3 separate regions of the Homo sapiens genome follow, and regions 2 and 3 are each linked to region 1. The links are contacts of gene promoters, found by promoter capture Hi-C in blood cells and fetal thymus (Javierre and others, 2016). All regions are on one chromosome and are shown on one strand. The core of a region is centred on a gene start or on the middle of the fragment in contact, and the rest is flanking DNA. Distances in the headings are between cores, read along the strand shown. Region 1 holds the start of GPR65 (G protein-coupled receptor 65). Region 2 overlaps TTC8 (tetratricopeptide repeat domain 8). Region 3 overlaps PTPN21 (protein tyrosine phosphatase non-receptor type 21).

Region 1 (4,398 bases), core at 1,248-3,747:
CTCTTGAACATACTTCCTCTCTCACAACGTTAAACCCAACCCCCGCCAAGCAGGACAATCTTTTTCAGTTTTGGGGGCTGGGAAGCTTTACTTTATTTCAGCACATATTCTCCCAAGCATAGTGTCTGTGCCTCAGTCTTTTCCAAGGCCTTGAATTTTTGAAAGTCAAAACTCACATTGTCTTCTTTTTTTCCCCCCCGCTTGTGCCAGAAATTTCCTTGAGGCAATAAATGCAAAATGGCTCACTGATTGTGTAAGGGTAGGGCTAGAGTGAAAAGAAATGTGGCTGGGAAAATATAGCATTATTTCAAAATCTTACCCTGCCATATTTAGTTGCCGCTTTAGCTAGTGAAATTACACCTAGCAGATAGTGTGGCCTCACAAAGGACCCCTTCATCAGTAGAACACACTCTTGCACTGTCTGCCCAATGGAGAAGTTGGAACCAGGTAGATCCACAATCTCCTCCCCATTACCCCATGAGTAGCCCAACTGGCCAGTGTTGGGTCCCCAGATTGTGACCACAGAAAACCAAATAATTGACTGGTCAGAAATGCCAACCCCGTTAAGGCAGTGTTCTGAATAACTACTAATTGTCTTTATCTCATTGTTATGTTGTTAAAATGTCACAGTGACTCAATGATTTAAAATTTCTAACCGTTCATTATAAAAGATAGCCCTATAGTTGAAAATACAGTATTGCCATATTTTCCATATTAAGAAGCAAATTTCTTAAAAGCTGGTAAATTTCTTATTGTGTAGAGTTGGCAAGGTTTTAGCATAGGTCAGCTCCAGCTTTTTCTCCTCTTTAATCAGAAGTGAAAGTTTGTGTTTCTTATGTTTCTTAATGATAATCTTTTTCTTTTGAAAAGCAAAATACATGAATATTAGATATGGACATGAAAATACCCTTTCCCTAAAAGCAGAAGTATAGTCTATTCAGATAAAGTAAGAGATCATCAGAGTAATGAAATACCTACGTAACAATGCACTTGTACCCCGAACTTAAAAAAAGATATATCATGTATAGAAACCACAGATAAGCAGATGTACGAAACCAAGCAAAAATGAGAACTTTGAATTACAGTCACAAGTAAACTGAAATCGTTACTTTTCATTTTTGTAAAACTTCAAGACATTTATTGTTAATTTTTTACTTTATACTTAATTTTTATTATTTCAGTAACAATATATTGATTTATAATTTACTATATGCTAAATTACTTTATAAACTATCCTGTGCTTTATAAATGTAAGGTATTAGTTTTATTATTCTCAAAGAAAGACCTACAACGGAAGTATTGAAAATCTTTACATTCCTGATATACCCTGATCAACTTCAATATGGAAAGCCTTGCTTATATACAGGCTAATCTTTTCTATCTCTGGGTAGGGAGAAAAAAACAACAAAAAAAAAACACCAGCAACAACCCTTAATGTCCTTTAACAAACACAGATTCAAAATGTCCTGATTACATCTTTAAAATTAAGTCAAATGTTTTCATCCCAAATAAATTCTGTTCTTTCAAATAATATTTTCCCTTCATTTCTAATAAAAGTTTATGAGGGCAAGATTCAAAAGTGATATTTCTGACTTTTTTATATATCAATAGTAAGAAAGTTATAGGAGCTAATTTCACTTCATATTAAACCACTTATAGATTTGGCATTAACTTTAACTTGCTAAAGTACAAGAGTTTTTATAATAACAATGTAAGTCTTAAATAAAATTTTCAAGTTTCATAAAATTATTTGTCTCAGCTAGTTAATTCAACTGGTTTTTAGCCATCTCTGTTTCCAAGAGGAGAGAATCAAAGGAGAAAATAGTTCTACAATCAAATACTATATATCTAATCCCATTAGTCTCTCAAAAAAAAAAAGAAAAGAAAGACGGTATGAGGTTGGCTACCTTAACCCCTGCCTTAAGCAGCACAATATCCATCATTAAACCCCTCAGCCTCAATTCTCCCTTTTCTGTTTTTGTCCCAGGAACTTTATCACCCTGAATCTACCTACAATATCCTCCCCTATCTCACACATCCAAATGGTTCATTCTATTTTATCTGTACCCCTCTTGAAGTACTTCTTCATTTTGCCATTGCATTACAATCATTATTAAACATGTCTTTCTCCTTTACTAGGTAAAAAAAGCTGCTTTTGGTTGATAGCCAGTTCGTATACATCTCCCCGCACACTGCTGGCATGATGAGTGAATGAATGAATGAATGAATGAATGAACAAAGAAATAAATAAAATATTTAACATATATTCCATTAAGTAAAGGGCATATAATATAATATCAGTACATACTTGTAATTAAGATGCAATGAGACAAGTGAGTTATAAAAATTACAGTACAGTAAACAATAAATAAAAACATCTTTAAAAGTATTTAAGAGACTTTTTTTGTTCAAACTTGGATAACGCACACCCTTCTCATTGAGATGCTGCTTCCTCATTGGTTTGTGCTGAAATATGAGTGCAATTTCCTGTCCCCTCAGCAGTGTTGGTTTCTCTTCTTGACTTGATGCAGGCACAGATTTATCAAGCTCCTCAGTCAACAAACACATCACCGGAAGAAATATGGGTAAGTATAAGATTAAAAAATAAAATAATATTTTAAAGTAGATAACATGCTTTGGCATAATTGTCAGTGATGTTCGCAACATTCTTCCTGGTTTAGGCTGTATAAATGTGGTAATGCAAAGCATGATAAGAGAGAAAGAAATGAGGAAGACACATGGTTTCCTCTACTTTGAGCAGTGGTAAAGGGCCAAACTTTAAATTTAGAACTAATTAGGCAAAACCATAGATATAGAAAAAGGGGGTTGTTCATACTTTATTTTCTTTTCAGGAAACAGTGCTTTGGCAAACTTCATTCAGTATTAGGAAGAAGCCTACCAGCCCCTGGCTTTAGAGCTATCTGGCACCAATCCCTCATCTGTACAATGGTCCAGTAAATACTTTTTATATCCATCAGAAAAAAATGTGATATTAGGAAAGAATATTTCCAGTATTAATAAATGTCAAGTAATAATTATTAGTTAATAAGTGACTACCACAGTGCCTGAAATATATAGTAGAGTCTTAATAAGTAACTATTAAACTGATAGATGAAAGCAAGCATTTTCTATAACACTGTAGGAAAATATTGTACTTTTGGTCATCGTCATCAATGATTTGTACTATTTTTAGATCTGTTCAAGAATAGATATACTTTAATATACTGTAGATTGTCTTTTTTGACATCTGGTAAAAATTAAAAAATTAAAAACTCACCAAAATTTCTCAGTGCTTGTTCTAAAAACAATTTTCTCAAAATTTGATTAAAGGAGGCAAAATAATATCTGAAAAGATATGTGAATACTGTAATAGGAATTATATACAGTATTCCACTAAAATCTCAGATCCACCCAAATTAAATGAACAACTATTATCTGCAGAGCCTAGTATTATACGTGAAGTGTTACCATATAAATTACACTCTGAGCACCTCCAGCTTTTCTGCTATGCTGTGGCTAGATGACTAAAGATGATTTCTTTTCAGAAAATGTAGGGGACAGCACAAAGATTGGTGCAGACTACCAATGTCATTAAAACAATATTACCAGCTAACGTACAGTGAATGCCTCCCATGTGCTAGGAACTTTGCTTCATATGTCGTTTCATTTAACCCTCACAACAATCTTAGAAACTGGGTACTAACTTACACATGTGAAAACTGGAACTTAGAGAGGTGAAGAAACACCAATGGGCCCAGAGTGCTGTTGAGAGGCATTCGAATTGTCTCCAGAGCCCACGCTCTTAACCACAAGCCTGTACTGCCTCTGCGTCACTACAAAGAAGAGGGCCTCTGCTTCATCAACCCATCCTGTCTTGTGGTTAAGTCAAGGCAGGAAATGCTTTTACAGCTAGAGAAATGTATTCCATTGAAAACTTTATAAACCTTTCTAAAAATCATTTTTTCATTTAATCTGTCATACCATTTTTAAAGAAAATGATGACTATCTATTGAGTAACACGGACAAAGGAGGAAGAGGCACATGCTGCCCATTACCCGACTTTCTCGGTCCTGGTCTTAAGGGGAGGATGTTTTCATGGTTCAGGTGTTCTTCCCAAGACACATGAGCCTGGTGTTGGACGTGTTGTGTGTGCATCAGAGTCCCATCCGCGGGGGCTGATTCAATCTTCCTGCATCGCAGACATTACCCTAGTGTCCTTTTCCTACTTCAGTTATATCCTTTAGAAGTTTCTTTAGTGGGGATTTTGGATGTAAATGTTCTGAGTGGTAGTTTACCTGAAAATGTCCTAATTCTTGCTCTGGTCCTTGAAATTTAGTTCTGTTGAGTATATAATTATAGGATGACATATATTTTCTTAGCAATTTGGAACTTTTAATC
Region 2 (4,398 bases), core at 563-3,062, 820 kb after region 1:
TAGTGGTGTTGCCTTGGAGATGTTAGAAAAAATGGAAAATTGAAGGGAGTTACAAAAGCGGAGGCCTGAGTGTGAATGCTGTTACTAGGCTCTGCCTTAGCTCCCAGCAAATGGATGATGGATGATAACCTGCTGAGATGAACATTTTGTCTTTCAGATAGTACATCTCTCTTAGAACAGCCTACGTTAGTGGTAATACAAAGCTAGGTTCTGTTGTTAGTTCACATTAATTAATAGGACTATATTTCTGTAGACAAGCATTTTTCCAAGGTTTTTTTAAATTTTTTTTATTTTTTTTTATTTTTTTTTGAGACGGAGTCTCGCTCTGTCGCCCAGGCTGGAGTGCAGTGGCACGGCGCGATCTCGGCTGTCTGCAACCTCCGCCTCCCAGGTTCAAGCGATTCTCCTGCCTCAGACTACCGAGTAGCTGGGACTACAGTTACGTGCCACCAAGCCTGGCTAATTTTTTTGTATTTTTAGTAGAGACGGGATTTCACCGTGTTAGCCAGGGTGGTCTCGAACTCCTGACCTCGTGATCCGTCTGCCTCGGCCTCCCAAAGTGTTGGGATTACAGGCATGAGCCACCGCGCCCAGCCCCCAAATGTGTTTTTGGCATAGTAATCTTATAGATATTGCTTAAAAAAATACACAATCAAATATGTTTGGGACTTGTGACAAAATATTGACCCTTTACGTTGGTACAACAGAAGCTTGTTAAGAACCTTTGATGTGGCCGGGCACGGTGGCTTATGCCTGTAAACCCAGCGCTTTGGGAGGCCGAGGCGGGCGGATCACGAGGTCAGGAGATTGAGACCATCCTGGCTAACACGGTGAAACCCCCTCTCTACTAAAAATAGAAAAAATTAGCCGGGCGTGTTGGCGGGCGCCTGTAGTCCCAGTTACTCGGGAGGCCGAGGTAGGAGAATGGCGTGAACCCGGAAGGCGGAGCTTGCAGTGAGCGGAGATCGCACCACTGCACTCCACACTCCACAGCCTGGGCGACAGAGAGACTCTGTCTCAAAAAAAGAACCTTTGATGTGCCAGACATTGTTCTAGGCACAATGGTTTGCAGGAACTTTATGTGCCATTTTAATTTTTCCATTGAGTTACGGTAGTTTTCATTCTGTGTTCCACGAAACAGTAGTCCCAAGAGCTGTTCAGTGAGAACAAGTTCCCTCATTAAGTACATTTGGGAAATGTATGTTCCTTCTTGGAGATTCAGGATGCACCCTAAAGGCTCTGAGTAGTTTTGAAGAAAAGGAAACTAATTTTGCCTATTTTTGATTAATCCAAATAATTAAATAGTTCTGAAACTTATTTGACCACCGGATTCCTTTTTTTTTTTGACCCAGGGAAAGGGTCAGATATCTTCACTGTTATCCTGGGAAGATGTTGGTACATCGGGAAATGTAGGCAAAGCAGCAATATTTTTATTAATAGTTAAGACCCTCTAATCTTGAGTTCATAGTGACATTCAGTATTGCACCTATAAATTGAGATATCAGGACTTGATATATATTCATCTCAATGACCTTTCATTGAGTGCTTACTACAGATTGTGTATCCCTTATCCGAAAAGCTTGTGACCAGACCTGAATAGAAGTTTCAAAAAAAGTTATTGTTTTATTTTTATGAGCAAGGGTTGATATGTTCAGCTCCAATATATATAGAGTAGGTCTAAGAGAATCAGTACCAGATCTGGAGGAAATTTGATATTCTTTTCCTTTCTAATAATTTTTATTTGTTTTATTTGTTTGTTTTGTTTTGTTGAGGTAGTTTATTATGGTTGAACTGTATGTATTGCCAGAATAATGAGTAGCATTTTACCAGGAATAGACGTTTAACTTGATGTCATCTTACCAGAGTTAGGTTTTGTTACTAGGTAGGGCTATTGAAAAGTTTACAGGGCTTACTCATGTTAGTCATTCTTTGACCTAACTTTGAACACTGTGCTGTTATTACTCTATGTTTTTCGTAACACCAGTTTCTGTATTTTGCACCCAGTTGTTATTTCATGTTGGAAATATTTCCCAGAATGATTTTTCCCAAGCTTGAAGAAATCCTGCCTTTTTCTTCATTAAAAAAATTAATATTTATGTTAGAGTGTTGATGCAATTAAAGAAGAGCTTTAGGAAGGAAGCTTAAGGAAGTTCCTTTGATTACAAGCTTGAAAATTATCTTTCCTTAGAACATGACTCCACAATAGCAGGTTTGTGTGGTATCCCAAGCACCTGATGCAGAGTCAGGCACACAGGGGCTTTTGATATGTATTTGCTGAATGAGTGCGTCGATCATGTTCATGTGTGTGTTTTGATGGAGTTGTTCATATTTGTCAGCTTCCTCTCTATGAAGGTCGTCGTAGTTGCTTGATGATCTTTGTCTTCCCCTGCCCCATCCTTAATTCTCAGCACCATATGTTCTTAAATGTACACTTACTTTTTCAAATAAATATAATTTCATTATGGGCATTCTTAATTCTTGTTTTGAGGGTCAGTTTTTAAAAATCAATTTTTAAAATGCTTCCTAGGTTCCTCCAGGAGAGTGTTTCTAATAGTAATGATCATCATTGCTATCTCTTACAGTGCTTTCTTTGTTTCGGTGGAGGAAGTTAAATGATGGAGAGATTCACAATCTATGAAAAGCTAACAGAAATGTGACCAGAGCGTGAGCAGATGGTCCTCTGCTCCGCAGTTAGCTGGTTCACCTTCATGCCCCTTTAGCCTCATGGGCATTTACTGAGGTTTTGACATTTGAGAGTACTTTTCCTCTATAACTATTTGAATTACTGTTCTGTGCCACCAAACTGATTATAGTATGGAGTGAATTTGAAACTCCTGGACACATAGAGGAGCCCAGAAATTAAAATATTTCTTCTTAGTGCCAAATGGATTCATTTTTGCTCTTACGTTTTCCCCTCCCCATTACAAAAGATAGTTTTTGTTTTTAATAATGTCATTTTTCACTTTTGGTTTTGCTTATTTTTCTCCCAGATGAGAAAAACCTCTCAAAAATGATTTGTTATTTGTTAATCTTTTTATAAGCTGGTCCAGGGAGCTTCAAAAAGATAACATTTTGGTCCTGATACATTAGCTTATTGAGATGAAGGCCACCTCTAAGACTATTTATATGCATTTATTTCGCCTTTAAGGGATACTATTTTGGTGTAGAATCATCAAAAGTCTTTAATTATTGCCTTGTATTTTCTATTAGGATTTCTGGATTTTATTTTTGATAGTCAGGCTAGCCAGAGAGGTATGATGTACTATGCAACAGCATGTTTCTTCAGAGTAATACATTTTAATTTGGCTACAAAAGAACTGAAGGGTAGATTAAATATAATAATATGGTGTTTGGTAATGGGGAAGGGTTCTTGAAGAATATGGGTTCTCAACTGCTTTTTCTAGACACAGAATGGTGAGGGACAGAGGCCAGCCGGGGTCTGTAAGCATGAAGAGTATTAAAGTTCAGATCTGTTAAGAATAAAGAAAGAAAGATAACTGATTAATTTATTATAATTTCCCTTTTTTGATTAAATATAATAGGAATAACCAATTCATAGAGAAGCATTATCTTTTTCAAAGTGTTCTTTAAATCGTGACTGAAAAAGTGGTTAAAAGTTGTAAGATATAAAAAGAGGAAATGCAAAACAGTCCTCTCCGTACAGCACTGTGACCTAGAGAGAATGTTTGCTTCTGCAGCTCATGTTGATCATCCTGATCAGTTGCTTAATCTGTTTACTGTTCTTTGTGTTCCATATGTCAGATTCATGGCTTTAAAACCAGTCCTGATTTTTAGCTCCATTATAATTAAACAGTTAATAAAACGTAAAGGTTTTTCAGGCAGTGGGATTTTTAAAAGACAATATGCTTTCATTAATGGGGTAGGTGTCTGGTAGATTTTCAGATTATTAAAATCGGTGATTCTGAGGGTGGGACCCATTAGCTGTGTATCAGAATGGGAGAAAGACTTTTTTCTAACTTACATTCTCGTTTTGCCCCAATCTCTGCTTATAATGAGAGATGTTACAGAGAGGAGGGGGTTATTATTGTAAATGGTTTGAAGGAGGAGAAATGGCTGAAAATGACTGGCTTAGATGAAAGACATGAAACCAGGGCTCCCCAATGAGCTGTATGTTAGTAGTTGGTTGAGACAGTGATTTGGTGATCCAAGCCAAAGAACATATCGTGTGATTATCTAATTGGTTTCCTCTTTGGGGCCATGGAGACTTAGCCAGACTTAATCCTTTGATTCTATACGCTGTGGGGCAGGTCATTTTATGAATTTGTATTCCTGCTGAATTACACAGATTACACTCCCACTTGGCTGCGTGGTCACTAGATCTCTCTAACCTTCTGAAATCCATCAATTCCTCTATTCTCTTAAACTTTTTCCCCCTTC
Region 3 (4,398 bases), core at 1,320-3,819, 540 kb after region 1:
TTTCTAAGTGCAAAATACAAGGGACTGAGAAGGTTATTTTCTAGATATTTCATACCAAACTTGCAGGAAGAGAAAGGATGTTATGGTGAATATCTTAATTCTCAGCAGTGCAGCTCTGAACTCAGTTGCCTGACTTAACAATAATACCTCTCCAGTGATTTTTCTCCAATCCATTATTATCCCTCAGTGTATTATTCCAACTAACAAATTTACATGATGAAACAGAAAGTGGAAACGGCTAAAGAATACTAAAAAAGAGCTGCCAGTTAATGAGTGTCCTATGGATGCTATTGGTCTTTGGTCCACTCCATCAACGAGATGGTGGGAGGAAACAAAGTTGATTATACACAGGGTTACACATATGTAAAGCAACTAGCACAGGGCATGGAATATGGTCAGTACCCAATGCAGAGCTATCATTCTTACTATTACATGCAGCCATATCACATACAAAAGAAACAAATCCCAGGGAAGTTGGTTTCCTCAGTTCACACAGGTAGTCTGCAGGGATTTGAACCCAAGTCCATTGAGCACCAAAACTTTACCTCTTTTCTTCCAAAACCCCACTTTGCCAAATGTAGTTGAATCAAATGGTATAAAGTTCAATGTGCTGAAAATTCACTTGACATTGAGGTTCATTTGACAAGTCAACGAAGTCTGAGCCATCTAAGTAACTGTAACATAACAAGTTGTTTTTATTTTTATTTTTTCTGGAGACAGTGTCTTGCTCTGCCACCCAGGTTAGAGTGCAGTGGCATGATCATGGCTCACTGCAGCCTTGCCTTCCTGGGTTCAAGTGATCCTCCCACCTCAGCCTCTAGAGTAGCTGGAACTACAGGTATATGACACCATGCCCAGCTAATTTTTTAATTTTTTGTATAGATAGGGTCTCACTATGTTCCCCAGGCTGGTGGTGAACTCCTGGACTGAAGAAATCTTACTGCCTCGGCCTGTCAAAGTGCTATGATTACAGGCATGAGCCACCTTGCCCGGCCAATAAGTTGTTTTTAGATTCACATGAGCTTGCCACTCAGCATGAGATTACCCGTATATTTTCTTAGCCTGAGTAGGCAAAATAAGTCAAAACTTATTTAAAATAACAAAACTACTCTGCCCCATATATAAATCTCAACACTATACACCTTTTAATGATCATATTTGGGTAATCTACTATAGAAAGTGGTACAAACCCTTGATAGGAAGTTATTTCTACTACATGCTACCAATCCTCATGAAGGATTTGTGACATACACAGTTTCTTCTAGTAATGTTAGCATCTTAGGCAAAAACTTAAATTGCCTCTGTATGTTCTGTCAATTCATTAAAAGATAAAGGAAATCTAAGTGACATTTGTTTATGAACAAATTGCTCAGAGAACTGAATAGGAAAATATTCGCTAAATTGGCATACTGTTAAAAGAATGATGAATCCTTGTTAATAGAAAAGAAAATGCCATATTCACATAAAGTGTGTATCTGACAAGAAGAATGATACAGAGGGCTCAACAATTGGCCTGGGAACTTGATTAATGTATAAAGGAAGAATGAATCATCCATTCAATTCCTGAAGATGCATCACATACCTGCTGCCTAGCAGGGAAGACAGACATGGATCTACCATCAGCAGGACAGTGGGGGAATTCCCACTCATGACCTCCCCTCTGTCCCCCCTGAGAGGGGCTTTTTCCTTAATAGTAAGTTGTCCCACTGAGCAATGAATGGCCCTTCCTGAGACCTAAAGATGAAGGCCAAAGAAAAAAAGGGCATCTGTAGTAGAAGGGTCAGCGAGGGGAGGCTCTATATTCAGAGGCAAATTATTATTTTTTAATTATGAAGGTCTTGAATTGTTCACAAATATTCCATCCTTCCAGCATCTTTCACTCTGGGAAGTAGAAGACCAGGGAAGAAAGATCCTGCTCTGTGACAAGGGGAGAAAAAGGGAAAGACTGCCTTAACCAGGAAGCCTCCAGGCCCACAGCCTAGGCCCATGGATGGACTTGGGGGAGAGAGTGGCTATGAACCACCTGAAATTGTATACAAAATTCTGTGTTTGCATCAGATCTCAAAGGGGTCCATGACCGCCACAAATTTAAAGGTCAAAGTTCGAGCAGAAGTCTGATATAAAATCTCAAATCCTGGGTCTTTTGCTTATTAGCTACGTAATCACTCAAACTTTTCTTAAGTTTAGTTTCCTAATTTGAAAATGGAAAAGATAATACAACGCCTAACTCATTGTGAAGATTAAATGAGGTAAATAAAGCTTCCAGCACAATAACGCTCATTTACCCAAATGGAGACAGCAGAAAGTCAAAGCTTCTAGAGATATTAGAAGGAATGGAATCTGATTCTATACACCAAAGACAGTGACAGCACTTAGAGCCCCCAAAACACCATCAGTTCCCTCATGTCCACCATTTTGTAATTCACCTTACAAATCTCGAATGAGTAAATTCATGCTTAATTCCACATGGTCCTGAGACTACACTACTGTGACAGACTGATGGTAAGAAAATAAGGACATCTGGTATCTCAAGGGAAAAATCCAATACTGAAAGGAAAACATCTTAGGTTATTAGCCTTTAAGTTTATTAGGCACTAAGTCTAGGTTGAATAATACTCTATTCTTCAAATAAACAGGTTTCCAAATTCTGCAATAACTTGTGATTGTAGAATAGACTTTAAAATGCATATCCTCCATGTTTGTATGTGTAATTTCCATACTTATTTATATGGCTAATTCTTAATTACCTAGACCAAAGAAGAAAAGTAACAAAACCTAAACATCAAGAAAAATCCCTGATCATTTATAATTGGTGTTAGACTTGGGAAAGCTTTCTCTATCTAGGTGAGAGGCCAACCAACCTAACATTATATTTGCTTCAGACGGTCCAATAGCTCTAACTGAAAATATTCACAGATTCTTGTCTCTACCTCGGTCTTACTTGTTTTATAACGTACATACCTAAATGAATAACTACTTGGCCCAAAAGGTAAAAAAGTTTCTGGGTACTAGACTTTTACTTTACATATATATCAGCTATTTTTAGAGTCCAAATGAAAACAGCTAGTACACAAGGAAATAAGCATGAAATTCTTGATGTCTACTCAGATAACAGTCAAGATAAGGTCAGTGGATATTTGGAATACCTAAGACACTAATTTAAAATAAAACACTTTGATGGCCAAGAACACTTTCTAAAGTTGTGCTTGAGGGTTATGGTTTGCGTTATATGCTTGATTCCTCTCTATTCTAACAAATCCCCTAGCGAAAAAATATCCCCATCTGCCATAAGGTGCTATGAGAAGTATCTGTTCAAAGTCCAGTGAGGAAGCTGACACTCCCTTGACACAGCAATCTTACATCAGGGAGCCACTACAACTAGATCACTTTCTAAGTGTTTCAGAAGAAGCCCCAAAGTGAAAAAGAAGAGTCTAAAGAAAATGGTGCTTTTCTATCTGTATACAAAACTTTGGAAATGTTTACCTCTCTCCAGGAAATAAAATCAGAGCAAACAAAGGCTGACTTAATTGTACTGCTGTCCATGTTTATCAATCTAAATTCAAAACTAAACTCTTAATTTTTAAACTAAGTAAACATTTATTCAGCAACAACATAGGTGCAAGGTGCCATCCCAGACCCTGGCAATGCTCCAGTCAACAAGAGTCCTACTTTGATGGAGCTTACAGTCTATGGAACAAAAACTTGACATTGTGTGTAACGCACTAAACACACAATTTAAAAAACATTTCGTAAAGATCTATGATAAACCAAAGCCTATAATTAAGAAATGAGAGGCCACTATATATATTTTGCTAGACTTTCATCTTCAACAAAATACCCTGGAGGTAATTTTTAGCAGTGGCTCAGTATTTAACTCAACTTCAAAACAATAGTTATGTATGAAGGCCATATATGGGAACAACAATAAAGACGCCCCAGCATGCACACACCCCCCTCAGAAACAGCTGAAAGAAAACTGTCCTCTAAGTTATAAAACTAACACAATATACCACAGCAAACATGAAAAAAATAACCTTGAAGAGACTTCCATGGTTTCACAACTTCCCCATATCCTGAGGATTAAAAAACTTTTTAGGCCAGGTGCGGTGGCTCCTGCCTGCAATCCCAGCACTTTGGGAGGCCAAGGTGGGTGGATCACCTGAGGTCAGGAGTTCAAGACCAGCTTGGCCAACATAGTGAAACCCAGTCTCTACTAAAAATACAAAAATTAGCCAGGAGTGGTGGCAGGTGCCTGTAATCCCAGCTACTTGGGAGGCTGAGGTGAGAGAATCGCTTGAACCCGGGAGGCGGAAGTTGCTGTGAGCCGAGATCGCGCCATTTGCACTCCAGCCTGGGCAACAGAGCAAGACTCCATCTCACCAAAAAAAAAGAAAAGAA

What was found. The method cuts DNA at HindIII sites, captures the fragments that hold promoters and counts their contacts. A CHiCAGO score of 5 or more calls a contact.
Region 2: a contact is called between a fragment that was not itself captured here and the fragment with the promoter of GPR65 in region 1, in 2 of 17 cell types (total B cells and naive B cells). The highest score is 8.1, in total B cells.
Region 3: a contact is called between a fragment that was not itself captured here and the fragment with the promoter of GPR65 in region 1, in 1 of 17 cell types (naive CD8 T cells). The highest score is 5.4, in naive CD8 T cells.

What each region holds. Positions count from the first base shown.
Region 1 is chr14:88,002,638-88,007,035 of GRCh38, forward strand. GPR65 (G protein-coupled receptor 65) reads left to right here and starts at 2,498. Exons shown (of 2, transcript NM_003608.4): 1 at 2,498-2,585. RefSeq lists enhancers at 2,913-3,082, 3,883-3,942. The HindIII fragment of the contact is 4,497 bases long and covers 84-4,398 here.
Region 2 is chr14:88,825,692-88,830,089 of GRCh38, forward strand. The region is part of intron 1 of TTC8 (tetratricopeptide repeat domain 8); the gene reads left to right. Among named protein-coding and RNA genes, the nearest start is that of TTC8, 3.2 kb to the left of the region's middle. The HindIII fragment of the contact is 471 bases long and covers 1,578-2,048 here.
Region 3 is chr14:88,539,968-88,544,365 of GRCh38, forward strand. All of the region lies in intron 2 of PTPN21 (protein tyrosine phosphatase non-receptor type 21), which reads right to left. Among named protein-coding and RNA genes, the nearest start is that of PTPN21, 13 kb to the right of the region's middle. The HindIII fragment of the contact is 518 bases long and covers 2,311-2,828 here.